4 separate regions of the Homo sapiens genome follow, and regions 1, 2 and 3 are each linked to region 4. The links are contacts of gene promoters, found by promoter capture Hi-C in human tissues and cell types (Jung and others, 2019). All regions are on one chromosome and are shown on one strand. The core of a region is centred on a gene start or on the middle of the fragment in contact, and the rest is flanking DNA. Distances in the headings are between cores, read along the strand shown. Region 1 overlaps LINC00649 (long intergenic non-protein coding RNA 649). Region 2 overlaps ITSN1 (intersectin 1). Region 3 overlaps GART (phosphoribosylglycinamide formyltransferase, phosphoribosylglycinamide synthetase, phosphoribosylaminoimidazole synthetase). Region 4 holds the start of KCNE1 (potassium voltage-gated channel subfamily E regulatory subunit 1).

What was found. Contacts are between HindIII fragments. The study calls those that stand out against the background at their distance.
Region 1: a contact is called between a fragment that was not itself captured here and the fragment with the promoter of KCNE1 in region 4, in 1 of the 25 tissues and cell types used here (dorsolateral prefrontal cortex).
Region 2: a contact is called between a fragment that was not itself captured here and the fragment with the promoter of KCNE1 in region 4, in 1 of the 25 tissues and cell types used here (lymphoblastoid cells).
Region 3: a fragment that was not itself captured here is called in contact with the fragment with the promoter of KCNE1 in region 4 in 1 of the 25 tissues and cell types used here (spleen).

Annotation. Positions count from the first base shown.
Region 1 is chr21:33,950,362-33,953,061 of GRCh38, forward strand. The region is part of intron 2 of LINC00649 (long intergenic non-protein coding RNA 649); the gene reads left to right. Among named protein-coding and RNA genes, the nearest start is that of LINC00649, 21 kb to the left of the region's middle. The HindIII fragment of the contact is 6,850 bases long and covers 1-2,700 here.
Region 2 is chr21:33,855,198-33,857,897 of GRCh38, forward strand. ITSN1 (intersectin 1) reads left to right here. Exons shown (of 40, transcript NM_003024.3): 30 at 1,539-1,660. Among named protein-coding and RNA genes, the nearest start is that of ATP5PO, 59 kb to the right of the region's middle. RefSeq lists an enhancer at 2,324-2,700. The HindIII fragment of the contact is 7,666 bases long and covers 1-2,700 here.
Region 3 is chr21:33,533,476-33,536,175 of GRCh38, forward strand. It overlaps GART (phosphoribosylglycinamide formyltransferase, phosphoribosylglycinamide synthetase, phosphoribosylaminoimidazole synthetase), which reads right to left. Exons shown (of 22, transcript NM_000819.5): 3 at 1,750-1,845; 4 at 1,104-1,278. Among named protein-coding and RNA genes, the nearest start is that of GART, 7.3 kb to the right of the region's middle. The HindIII fragment of the contact is 3,274 bases long and covers 1-2,700 here.
Region 4 is chr21:34,510,762-34,513,533 of GRCh38, forward strand. KCNE1 (potassium voltage-gated channel subfamily E regulatory subunit 1) reads right to left here and starts at 1,449. Exons shown (of 4, transcript NM_000219.6): 1 at 1,266-1,449; 2 at 340-554. The HindIII fragment of the contact is 8,709 bases long and covers 1-2,772 here.

The DNA.
Region 1 (2,700 bases), core at 179-2,678, 560 kb before region 4:
TAGTAGTTGCTGGGCAAAGTAAATAAGAAGGAGACAGAAAGGCCCAGGCACGCAGGAGACCCCAGCTAAAAGGGCAGGGAGAGGGACACGTTGGTGGTCAAGAAGAGGGAAATGAGGAGGGGCTTTTGGAGATCCCGCCAAAGAGGTGTTCTGTGAACCCCTCCCGCTGACACACCTACTGAAGGGTCCACTGAGACAGCAAAGCAGGAAGGGTGGAAAGGGTCCGCCAGGGGCAGTGCCTGACATGTGCTAGAGGTGACGTAGAATCTGGGATCAGCGACAAAAGATCACACCTAGAACCGTGGTCAAGGATGTGAGCCAGATTTTCTGGGGCTCAGTCCTGGGTTTGTCACTTAACTGTGTCACTTGGAGCAAGTCACATACCTCTGGCAGTCTCAGTTGCTCATCAGAAAAATGGGAATTTTATATATATATATAAAAAATATAATTATATATTTATTTATAATATGTGTATATATAATTATATGATTATAATAATCACAAATGGGATTATATATAATATATAATTATACATTAATTTATAATATATATTTATTTATAATATATGTGTGTATATATACGCATATATACATATGTATGTATGTCTATATCTCTATCTTTCGGGTTGTTTTGAGAATTAAATGACCTAACCCATGTAAAGCCCTGTGTACCGTGCCTGGCATGTAGGATACTTCATCACTGTCACCTGTTTTTGTTGTTATGACCTGAGCATCTCCCTGTTCACCAGCCCTTGTTCTTTAGCCACAGGTTGAAGATGACAGTAGATCCTAAGGAACCTCAGTTCTATCCCGAAATGCGAAGGCCTTTTTACTCAACCACAAAGAAGTGGTCAGCAGAAAACTGGTCATCCCGGCCTCTGGGGCCATGCACAGCACTCAGGAGGAGCTACTATTTTCCCTGCCTGTTTACATGCGGCCTGGGGCCTTGTGGGCTATTTGAAAATTAGGACACGAGAAGTCCAAGCAGCACCTGGTAATTAAACTGAGTCCTCTATCAGAGAGAGGCGTGACCTTGAAGGGCATCCATACAGGAGCCAGGGGCAAAGCAGAAGGTGGGAGGGATTCTCCAGGCTTGACCCTCTCAGCACATCTCAGTCAGGGGTGCCTGGCAGCCTAGATTCCAGCCCTGCCCAGTGCCACCCAGAGACCTGAGGGAGGTGGACAGCTGCTCAGCTGGGTGATGGGAGCCTCTAGAAATAGTTGTCAACCTCATCAAACCAGAGATGAGCCCTTAGGACAGCCAGGGTGTTGATTTCCAGCCAGGCAGGGCATTGGTTCTCCAGTGGGATGTGGACAAGGTTCACTGCAGCCTCTCAGCAGATGAACTAGGGGAGAGACACTACCCCAACCATGCTCCCCCGACCCTTCGGTGTTAAGTGAAAGTATCTTCCTTTTTTCTCTCTGCTCTCTCCGCTTTACAACAAAATATTATCTTTAGTCTGCAAAACCAGGGCCAGGAAGAATCTTCACAGCTAGACAGGGCCATGGAAAGATGATGAGGCATATCAGGAACTATGTAATCTTGTAATACTTCTGCTGCAAAACCTCCTGACGTTCTGAATGAACAGTCACATGCAGCCTCTTCAGTGCAAAACTGAGCTCATAAGAAAGTAAAGCAAATCTGTAGGGGCCAAATGAAGAGTGAACTGGAAGTCAGAGCTTCAAGTACATGACTGATGTGGTGTATCCCTTGGGGATGGGGGTGTACACGCTGGTTTTGGGAAGCAGGGCACTTGGGTTTGAAAGTTCATCCAGGACATTTGTGTGACTCTCAGTTTTTGAATATTGGTGAATAGTGCTGCTTAGAACATTCTGGTATGTGAGTTTTTGTTGCACATAAGGTATTTATGTTGAACAAATATTTAAGAGAAAAATTATTGAATTTAGGTATGTATAACCTCAGATTTGGAGAATACTGCTAAACAGTTTTTCAAAGTTGCTGTTCATTTTAAATAACAGCATATGGGCCAGGCACTATTGCTCATGCCTGTAATCCCAACACTTTGGGAAGCCAAGGCAGGAGGATTGCTTGAGGCCAGAAGTTTGAGACCAGCCTGGGCAATATAGTGAGACCCCATCGCTACAAAAAATTAAAATATTAGCTGGGCATGGTGGCGTGCACCTGTAGTTCCAGCTACTCAGGAAGCTGTGATAGGAGGATCACTTGAGTCCAGGAAATGGAGGCTGCAGTGAGCTTTGATCGCGCCAATGCACTCCAGCCTAGGCAACAAAGTGAGACCATGTATCAAAAAAAAAAAAAAAAAAAAAAGTCCAACAGCAATGACAACAGTGTAGGAGCATTCTAATTGCTCCACATCCTCAATTTGTATTGTCTTTTCCTCAGGCTTATTTTAATCACTCTGGTTGGATTTGCATTTCTTTCTTTCTTTTTTTTTTTTCTTGAGATGGAGTCTCACTCTGTCACCAGGTTGGAGTGCAGTGGCATGATCTCAGCTCACTGCAACCTCCGCCTCCCAGGTTCAAGCAGTTCTCTTGCCTCAGCCTGCTGAGTAGCTGGGACTACAGGTGTGTGCTACCATGCCCAGCTAATTTTTGTATTTTTAGTAGAGATGGGGTTTCACCATGTTGGCCAGGATGGTCTCGATCTCTTGATTGAGATTGTGATCTGCCCACCTCGGCCTCCCAAAGTGCTGGGATTACAGGTGTGAGCCACTGTGCC
Region 2 (2,700 bases), core at 50-2,549, 660 kb before region 4:
CTTCTTGAACATTAGTGCGCCAAAAAACAATCCTCTGGAGAGCTTGTTACATCACAGATACCCAGCCCCCAACTCCAGAGTCACTTCAGCCGGGGCATCTCTAGCAAGCTCCTAGGTGACGCTGATGCTGCCAGCCTGGGGACCACGCTTTGACAACCACTGGTCCCCAGCAGGGGGTTTTGCACTGTGCTCCATTGTGCCCCCTTGAGGGGAACAGAAGGGATGGGAAGAACAAGTAAAGGGGATTCAGCCCGGACTCTCCCACCTACATTCGGGACACCTCTGGGTCTGTCTTCCAAGTCTGGCTTCTGTGATTAAATAAAGAACCTCTGATAAAAAAGAGAGGTGGGTCCAGGCCTGCACATGGGATGCTCCCAAGAACCAAGCCTCCCTCCTGCTCATTCCAGTGTGTCTGGGGCAGGAGGCTCAAATGTTCAAACAAAACCCCAAATAACAAGCTAAGTGGGCAGAGTCATGAGTGAGCCCCACTTCCAGTGCAGGCACCATCTCAGGGCAGTGGAGTGGCCCTTCCCGTCGGGCAGCCTTGGCCTCCATGATGGTCTTGTGCCAGGCTCTCTGCAGTGGGAAGGACTACCCTCTCTGTGGCAAGCATGCTGCTCAGCTGCCCCAGGGGCCAGGCAGCAGCTTTGTCCAGGAGAGTGTGCCCAGTGCTGTCTGGAGGCACCCTGCATCTGCCTGGTCCCCAGGACCATCAGAGCCTCAGCACAGCCACCTCATCCTCCACAAACCAACCTCGACATGGATAACCCATGGCCTCCTGGAGCTCGGGGATAGAGCACAGCCTCTGCAGCCCAAGTCTCAGGGTTTGGCTCTTGCCTTCACCACTTCCAAGCTGAGAGACCTGGGGCCAGTCAACCTGTGTAAACCTCGGTGTCCTCGTCTGTGAAATGGGGATAATTCTAGTATAATACTTGAGCATTAAATGCAGTTCACCACCTGACATGGTGTGAGCCCTCCAGAGTTTTGGCCAATCGTCATTGAGTGTTTTGTTTTCACATTATTTTCGTGTTTCTGATGAAGCAGGAGTGTGCCGCCTGTATCAGTTTCTAGGGTGCCCTAACAAACGACCACAAACGGGGGGACTTAAAACAATAAGAATTTATTGCCATACATTCCTGGAGGCCGGAAGTCTAAAATGGAAGATGCTGGCAGGTGCCAGCCTCACTCTGAGGGCTCGGGGTGTGTCTTGGTTTGGAAACACATCACTCCAGGTTCTGCCTGTCTGTCTCTGTCTTCTTCTCATAAGGACACTGATCATATAGGGTCAGGACCCAACCCTGAGTATGACTTTATCTTAATTTGATTATATATGAAAAGACTATTTCCAAATAAGGTAACGTTCACAGGTACCAGGGGGTAGGGCTTCCACATATTACTGGGGAGGACACATTTCAGCCCATGACCCCACTGGACTGGAGCAAGCCCTCAGGACCCAGCAGCCACGAGGATCTTCCGTGTGAAGTTGTGTGGGCTTCCCCAGACTGTGCTAAGTTCTCCCAAATGGTTGTGTTTTCCAGGGTGTTCAGACTTACATCTCTTGGATATGTTGACCCCAACTGAAAGAAAGCGACAAGGATACATCCACGAGCTCATTGTCACCGAGGAGAACTATGTGAATGACCTGCAGCTGGTCACAGAGGTAAGGGAGCTGGTGGGGCAGGGGGCACGGCAGGGGGCGATGACGGAGGGAGAGGGGAGGGTTCCGTCAAGGAGGTCTATGTCCTGATTCTGAGCCCAAGAAACTTTCTGATGTTTGAGGAGCATCTGGATGGCAAATGCTATAGGAGATTGCGACCGCAGAGACGGTTCGTTGCTTATCCATGGCCAACATTGAGTCATTCCCACAGAGGGACAGAGATCACTTAGCCAAGGGCAAGTGAGTCCCTGAGCAGTTGATGGATGGAGTCATGTGAACTGAGAGTCTGGAGTCCACGCTCTACTCAGAGCAGCTGCAGCTCAGCCACCAACCAGGAGGTGCCATGGAGCCAGCCACGCCGCCCTCCTGGCCCGCAGTGTTGGCATCTGGAAATGGGGGGCCATCTGGCTGCTGTCTCGAGTCATTCCTGCCATATGTTACCCTGAGACAAACCTGTCACTGAGAATGGCAACGTTTCCTCCCAGGCCCCCACAAAAGCCCCTGACCTGAGTGATGCCTCCTCATCTTGTCAGTCCTCCCAGAAGGGCCCTGGCCACCTCATCCAGAACTATGGGGAGATGCGGAGCCCGGCGCTCCTGCTGCTCAGCAGGCCTTTTGTCCACGTCCATGGGAAGATGCCATATTGGGAGACAGGGATTTGCAGAGATGGACCTGCAGTTTGGAGAGTGCTGTGGTAGTCTGGCAACCACCACACCAAACGGGTGTGAAACCATCTTGTCTGATAGTCTTAACATCCAGGAAAGACGCAGCAGGGCTCGCCGCTGTTGGAGGAGTACAGGGTGGGTTGTTAGCTGCAGGACCACCATTAATACTTAGGAAGCATTGATGCAAACTCAAAAAGGTGCCCCTTTCTCAAGGTGTTTGACTGTTATTAAATATGCAGTTCAGGATGTCCAGGGTGCAAGTGTCACTCCTTAGATATGGCTCCTTTTTGCACTCTGCAAAACGCACCACCATATGTGGTTGCCCTGGTACATGCCGGGTTCAACGTCGGCTTAAGGACTCCTGTGGAATAGGACTCC
Region 3 (2,700 bases), core at 79-2,578, 980 kb before region 4:
TAAATAAATAAATAAATAAAATAAAATGGCAATAGTGGTGGCAGATGACCAAGTGATGATTACTCACTCTGGTTAATTATTTATGACAAAAAAAATCAATGTTCTTTATGTTGTAAGATGCCACTGCGTTTGTCAATCTGACCGTGAGGCCTAGTGTTACGGCTCATGCCTGTAATCCCAGCACTTTGGGAGGCAGAGAGAGGCGGATCTCTTGAGCTTAAGAGTTTGAGACCGGCCTGGGAAACATGGTAAAACTCCGTCTCTACAAAAAATATAAAAACTAGCTGGGAGTAGTGGTGTGTGCCTATTGTCCCAGCTACTTGGGAGGCTGAGGTGGGAGGATCACTTGAGTCCAGGAAGCAGAGGCTGCTGTGAGCCAAGATCACGCCACTGCACTCCAGCCTGGGTGACAGAGAGAGGCCCCGTCTCAGGTTGGGGGGTGGTGGTGGGGGGCGGGGAACCAAAAACCAAAAACATGGCTGTGAAGAGCGCACAACTGCAGAACCAAGTGTATTTTTCCCCTGAGGAACTACTCAGATTTTATTAAAAATGTCATCTTCCTGCAAGGCCACAAGATCATATAAACTCTGTATGCATAGGATCCCATTTTATTTTGGTTCTGGAAAACGACAACCCACATAATATTTATTGAGAAAGTTTTTTCCTTAATTATCTTACTACATCTTGAGACAGCCTAAAGACCTAGCATTACATTTTCAACACAGAAGTGACCTGTATATTTATTTAATTTTTTTGAGACAGGGTCTCACTCTGTCACCCAGGCTGCAGTGCAGTGGCACAATCTTGGCTCAGTGCAGCCTCCGCCTCCTGGGTTCAAGTGATCCTCCCACCTTGGCCTTTAGAGGAGCTGGGACTACAGGTGCACACCATCATGCCCGGCTTTTTTTTTTCTGTATTTTTTGTAGAGACAGGGTTTTACCATGGTACCCAGGCTGGTCTCTAACTCCTGAGCTCAAGTGATTCACCTGCCTTGGCCTCCCAAAGTGCTGGGATTACAGGTGAGCTACTGTGCCTGGCCACTGACCTGTGTATTTAAATATCAAAACTAAACAACTGTCCTTCACAGACAACCATTTACCTACCTCAAAATGAAGCTGCAGGCTTCTTCAGGTTTGGTGAAAGCCTTCCATTGTGCGGTTGGGATTCCATGTCTGTCCATAAACTCTTTGGCAAACCTTTTGCTGGACTCTAACTGAGCCGCTTCTGCTGTTGGGCCAAAGCATTGCACTCCTGCAGACCTCAGGTTCCCAACAATCCCTATTGATGAAAACAGTAGCCTTAGGTGAACCAAGGTCTCCCCAGGGGCTTTTCAGCCTGAAGACGAATTAGTATCAGACTATATCTACATCTAGACAAGGCAGATGACTGGTGGCAGAGGATAACTAACTTTTTCATGTTGTCTACTGGATAGAGATAAAATGCTATTAACATGTTATTCAAATCTATCAAAAGTTGTTATATTTGCATATATGGATTATTAAACACACACCAGAATACAGCAGAATAAAGACATATAAAATGTTTTCCATGGCTGCAAATTTGATCTCTAACTCATCATATAACTGATGCTTGGGAAAAAAAATCTAGACTCCATAAATTTCGAGAGTGGAAGCTCTTTTTCCAAGATAATATTACAAATTCTCATCTGTAAAATGAATTGGATTAGATGATCCCTAAGCTTCTGTTTGCACTGAATATACTGTAACAATAAACAGAAACAAACTTTACCAGCAGCCAGAGGTGCTTCTGGTCCAACAACTACAAATTCAATTTTCTTCTCTTTGCAGAATTGAGCAAGGGCAGTGTGGTCACTGATTGAGATGGCTGTAAACAGAAAAAAAAAAAAAAAAACCACTGCATTTACAAAAACATTCCACTTAAGTAAACTAAGTGTCTCACTAAAAAAACTAAGTTCTATACTTTAGTATGCTTGTTATCTGTTGGTTTTCTTATATTGGCAGAGATGACAGTTTCAACATGTGAAATTCAGAGGAGAGTGCATTAGGCTAACCAACAGAGCTCAGTTCTCCGTTATCATTGTAGACAGATGAAAACACCAATAAACTTCCCAAAGAGCCATAAAGTATCACCTCCATGATATTGTTCACGTCACTAATATTGACTGTATATTAAACAAAAAACGTAAGATATACTCAGAAATTGGTCTTTTAATGTCAATCAATCAATTGTACTGAAAATCCACTATGTGCTAAGTACTGTCCTCAGCACTGGTATTAAGATGTCAACACGGCGGGGCGCGGTGGCTCACGCCTGTAATCCCAGCACTTTGGGAGGCCGAGGTGGGTGGATCACCTAAGGTCAGGAGTTCGAGACCAGCCTGAACAATATGATGAAACCCCGTCTCTACTAAAAATACAAAAAGTAGCTGGGTGTGGGGGCATGCACCTGTAATCCCAACTACTCAGGAGGCTGAGACAGGAGAATCGCTTGAACTGGGGAGGCGGAGGTTGCAGTGAGCCAAGATCGCACCACTGCACTCCAGCCTGGGTAGATAACAAGAACGAAACTCTGTCTCAAAAAAAAAAAAATTTATCAACACAAGCAGGGTCCCTATACTTAACATGTTTACAATACGCTGTAGGAACGCTGGGTAATAAACATACAAACAAAAAAACAGCAAATATGAACAAATTAAGCAAATTTGATATGAAGTGAATT
Region 4 (2,772 bases), core at 199-2,698:
TGACGTCTGTCTGGGGCCCAGGATCACCTTCCTTGATTCCAGCTCTCTCAGGCTGTCAGGACCTGGCGCTGGGAGGCACTAGGCCATGCCCTGGCCTGAGGCCTTCTCTCTCCCTCTTTGCCCTGTGTCTCTGCAGGGAAGCCCGGCCCTGCCCCTGGGAGGGTGGGGGCAGACGTGTGGAGAGTGGGTGTACAAGGCCAGGGTTTGCCAGGCCCAGGACAGCCTGGCACCTGTCAATGGATGAGCGCCTCTCCCTTAGCCTGATGTCAGGGTGGGCATGAGGGTGGGAGCAGAGGGTGCCTAACTGAGGAAAGGGTCTGTGCAACCCCCTTCTCCTACCAGTTCTCGTTTCTGAAGTCTCCTCAAGCACACTGCGGTGTCCACACCATTGGCAGCAGGCTCCTTCTCTTCAGGTGGTCTTAGGAACTTCTCAGAACTTTTTGAGTTATCCTTCTGGTCTCTTCCTCCTGAGCACGGTTCTCCTGGTTGAGCTCCAGGCCATGCCATTCAACGCCCTCCAGGACAGGCCGAAGGGCTTGTCTGTTTGGTGGTTGCTAAGGTTTGAAAAAAGCCAGCTGGAAACTTAATCCCCAAAGCAACAGTGTTGGGAGGTGGGACCTAATGGGAGGTGTTTAGTCATGAGGGCTCCACCCTTATGAATGGATTCTCTCTCTCTTGTTCTCTCTCTCTCTCTTCCCGCCCCGCCCACCCCTCCTTCCCCAACCTTGTGATACCTTCCACCATGTCATGGCAAGAAGGCCCTTGCCAGATGTGGCCCCTCCATCCTGGGTTCCCAGTCTCCAGAACCATGAGCCAAATGCATTTCTGTCTGTTACAAATTATGTACGGTGTGGTTTTCTGTGATGAACACAGTGCTGTACCAGGGCCCTCTTGCCAAGACAGCCAGCTTATAGGAGCCTGCATGTGAGGCCCGGACGTCCTACAGAGCAGCAGTTAGAGGTCTGGCCTTCTGGATAGGCACTGCCCTGCCCTGCACACAGGACCTTGGTGGGGCATGATGGGGCTCTTCACCACGCTGCCCTCATTTTAGGAGGTGGGCAACCCTTTCTCCCCCTTCTCCATGTGCTTCTGCAGTTGGAAGAAGTGAGGGGGGTTCAGACACACTTAAGCTGAGCTTAGAGCAAAGCATGTCCCTCAAGGTGACCTTGCCGCATGGCCTGAACCTAGAATTCCCCTGACCAGGGTGGACAGCCATCACCATGGGCCTTTCTGCCTGGCCTAGTATGGCTCTCCTTCGAACTCACCTAGACCCTTGCATCAAAGGACTCGGGGACTCTGCTGCAGTCATCCTAGCACGGTCGAGAGGAGTAGGAAGGTGCCCAGCGGCTCAGCCTTTAAGGAGGTCTATTGGTCACCATTGCTTCTGCCTTCTTGAGAACCATCACCCTCGGAGGATCCGGTAGTGTATCCCAGTCAAGTGTCAAATGCGTTGTTCCCTGGAGAGGAAGGCTTATTTCCAGAAAGTACTCTGACGTTTTGTAATTTGTGATTTCTATCACTGGCTCAGTGGCCTACCCACTGCTCAGCTCATGTGGCATGACCAGGCTGGGGCGTCGGGTCATCTTGTTCTCTGGGTGTGTGGCAACACTGGTTTATGGCGTAATTTCCTTCCTGAGAAGAAATTCAGTAATTTCTAATATTCAGGGCTTTAGGTAGAGGCCTGAAAATCACTCTCCATGCCTCTTTCAGTATTTTATATATAGTTGTCTCTTGGTATCCATGGGGTTTGGTTCCAGAATCCCCTGCAGATACCAAAATTTGCGAATGTTCAAGTCCTTTATATATAGTGGCATAGTATTTGCATATAACCTATGCATATCAGCCAATCATAGATGGTGATTTAAATCATCTCTTGATTACTTCTAACACCTAATACTATGTAAATGCTTTGTAAGTAGTTGTTACCTGGCATTTTTTTATTTGTTTTATTTTTGTTGTTGTTTCATTAATTTTATTTTATTTTTGGAATATTTTCAGTCCATTGTTGGTTGAATCCACAGATGCAGAAGCCTTAGACACAGAGGGCCGACCACACCTATGTATGCTGTTCTTAAAGTAGCAACATATTTGTTCTGAACATAGAAGAAATTAGTCGTCTATTAGACTTTAAGGGAGTAAATATGGTCCAAGTTGATTTTTAAATTTAGCAAATAGTCATAGACATATCAGTGTCTTACAGAAAATATTTATTGGAATGCTCACTCTCTCATTTGGGATACTGCTTTGCCTTGCTGTGTCTTAAGAATGTCATCAGAGCATCACACACTTGAAAAACGTTTTTAAAAGGATATGATGATAATTAAGACCTTCTCCCCAACCCCTGCCCATTATCCAAGATCAATGTTTTTTTCCTTTATCCTGATTTTAAAATCAAGTACACTTTATTGAGGCATACTTTACATGAAGCAAAATGTACCCTTTCTAAATATGATAAGTTTGATGAGTTTTCAACAGATGTATACAGCTGTTACCATGACTGTGTCTTTACCCAGGTTCTTGCATTGCTCAATCCAGATACAGAATGTCTCCATCACCCTGACAAGTTCCTTTGTGCCGCACCCTCTAGCCAATCATCTGTTTTGAGGAGAGTTTTAAAACAAAGGTTTTTGTTCTTTTTCACTGATGACCATAACCTACCACAGACAGGGTCTCTCTCTCTCTCTCTCTCTCTTTTTCCCTGTTCTTGCGCCAGCTGCCTGACAATTTGTGGGATTAAAGCTCTAAGCTGCTTACTGGCTCTTCTGACTAGGG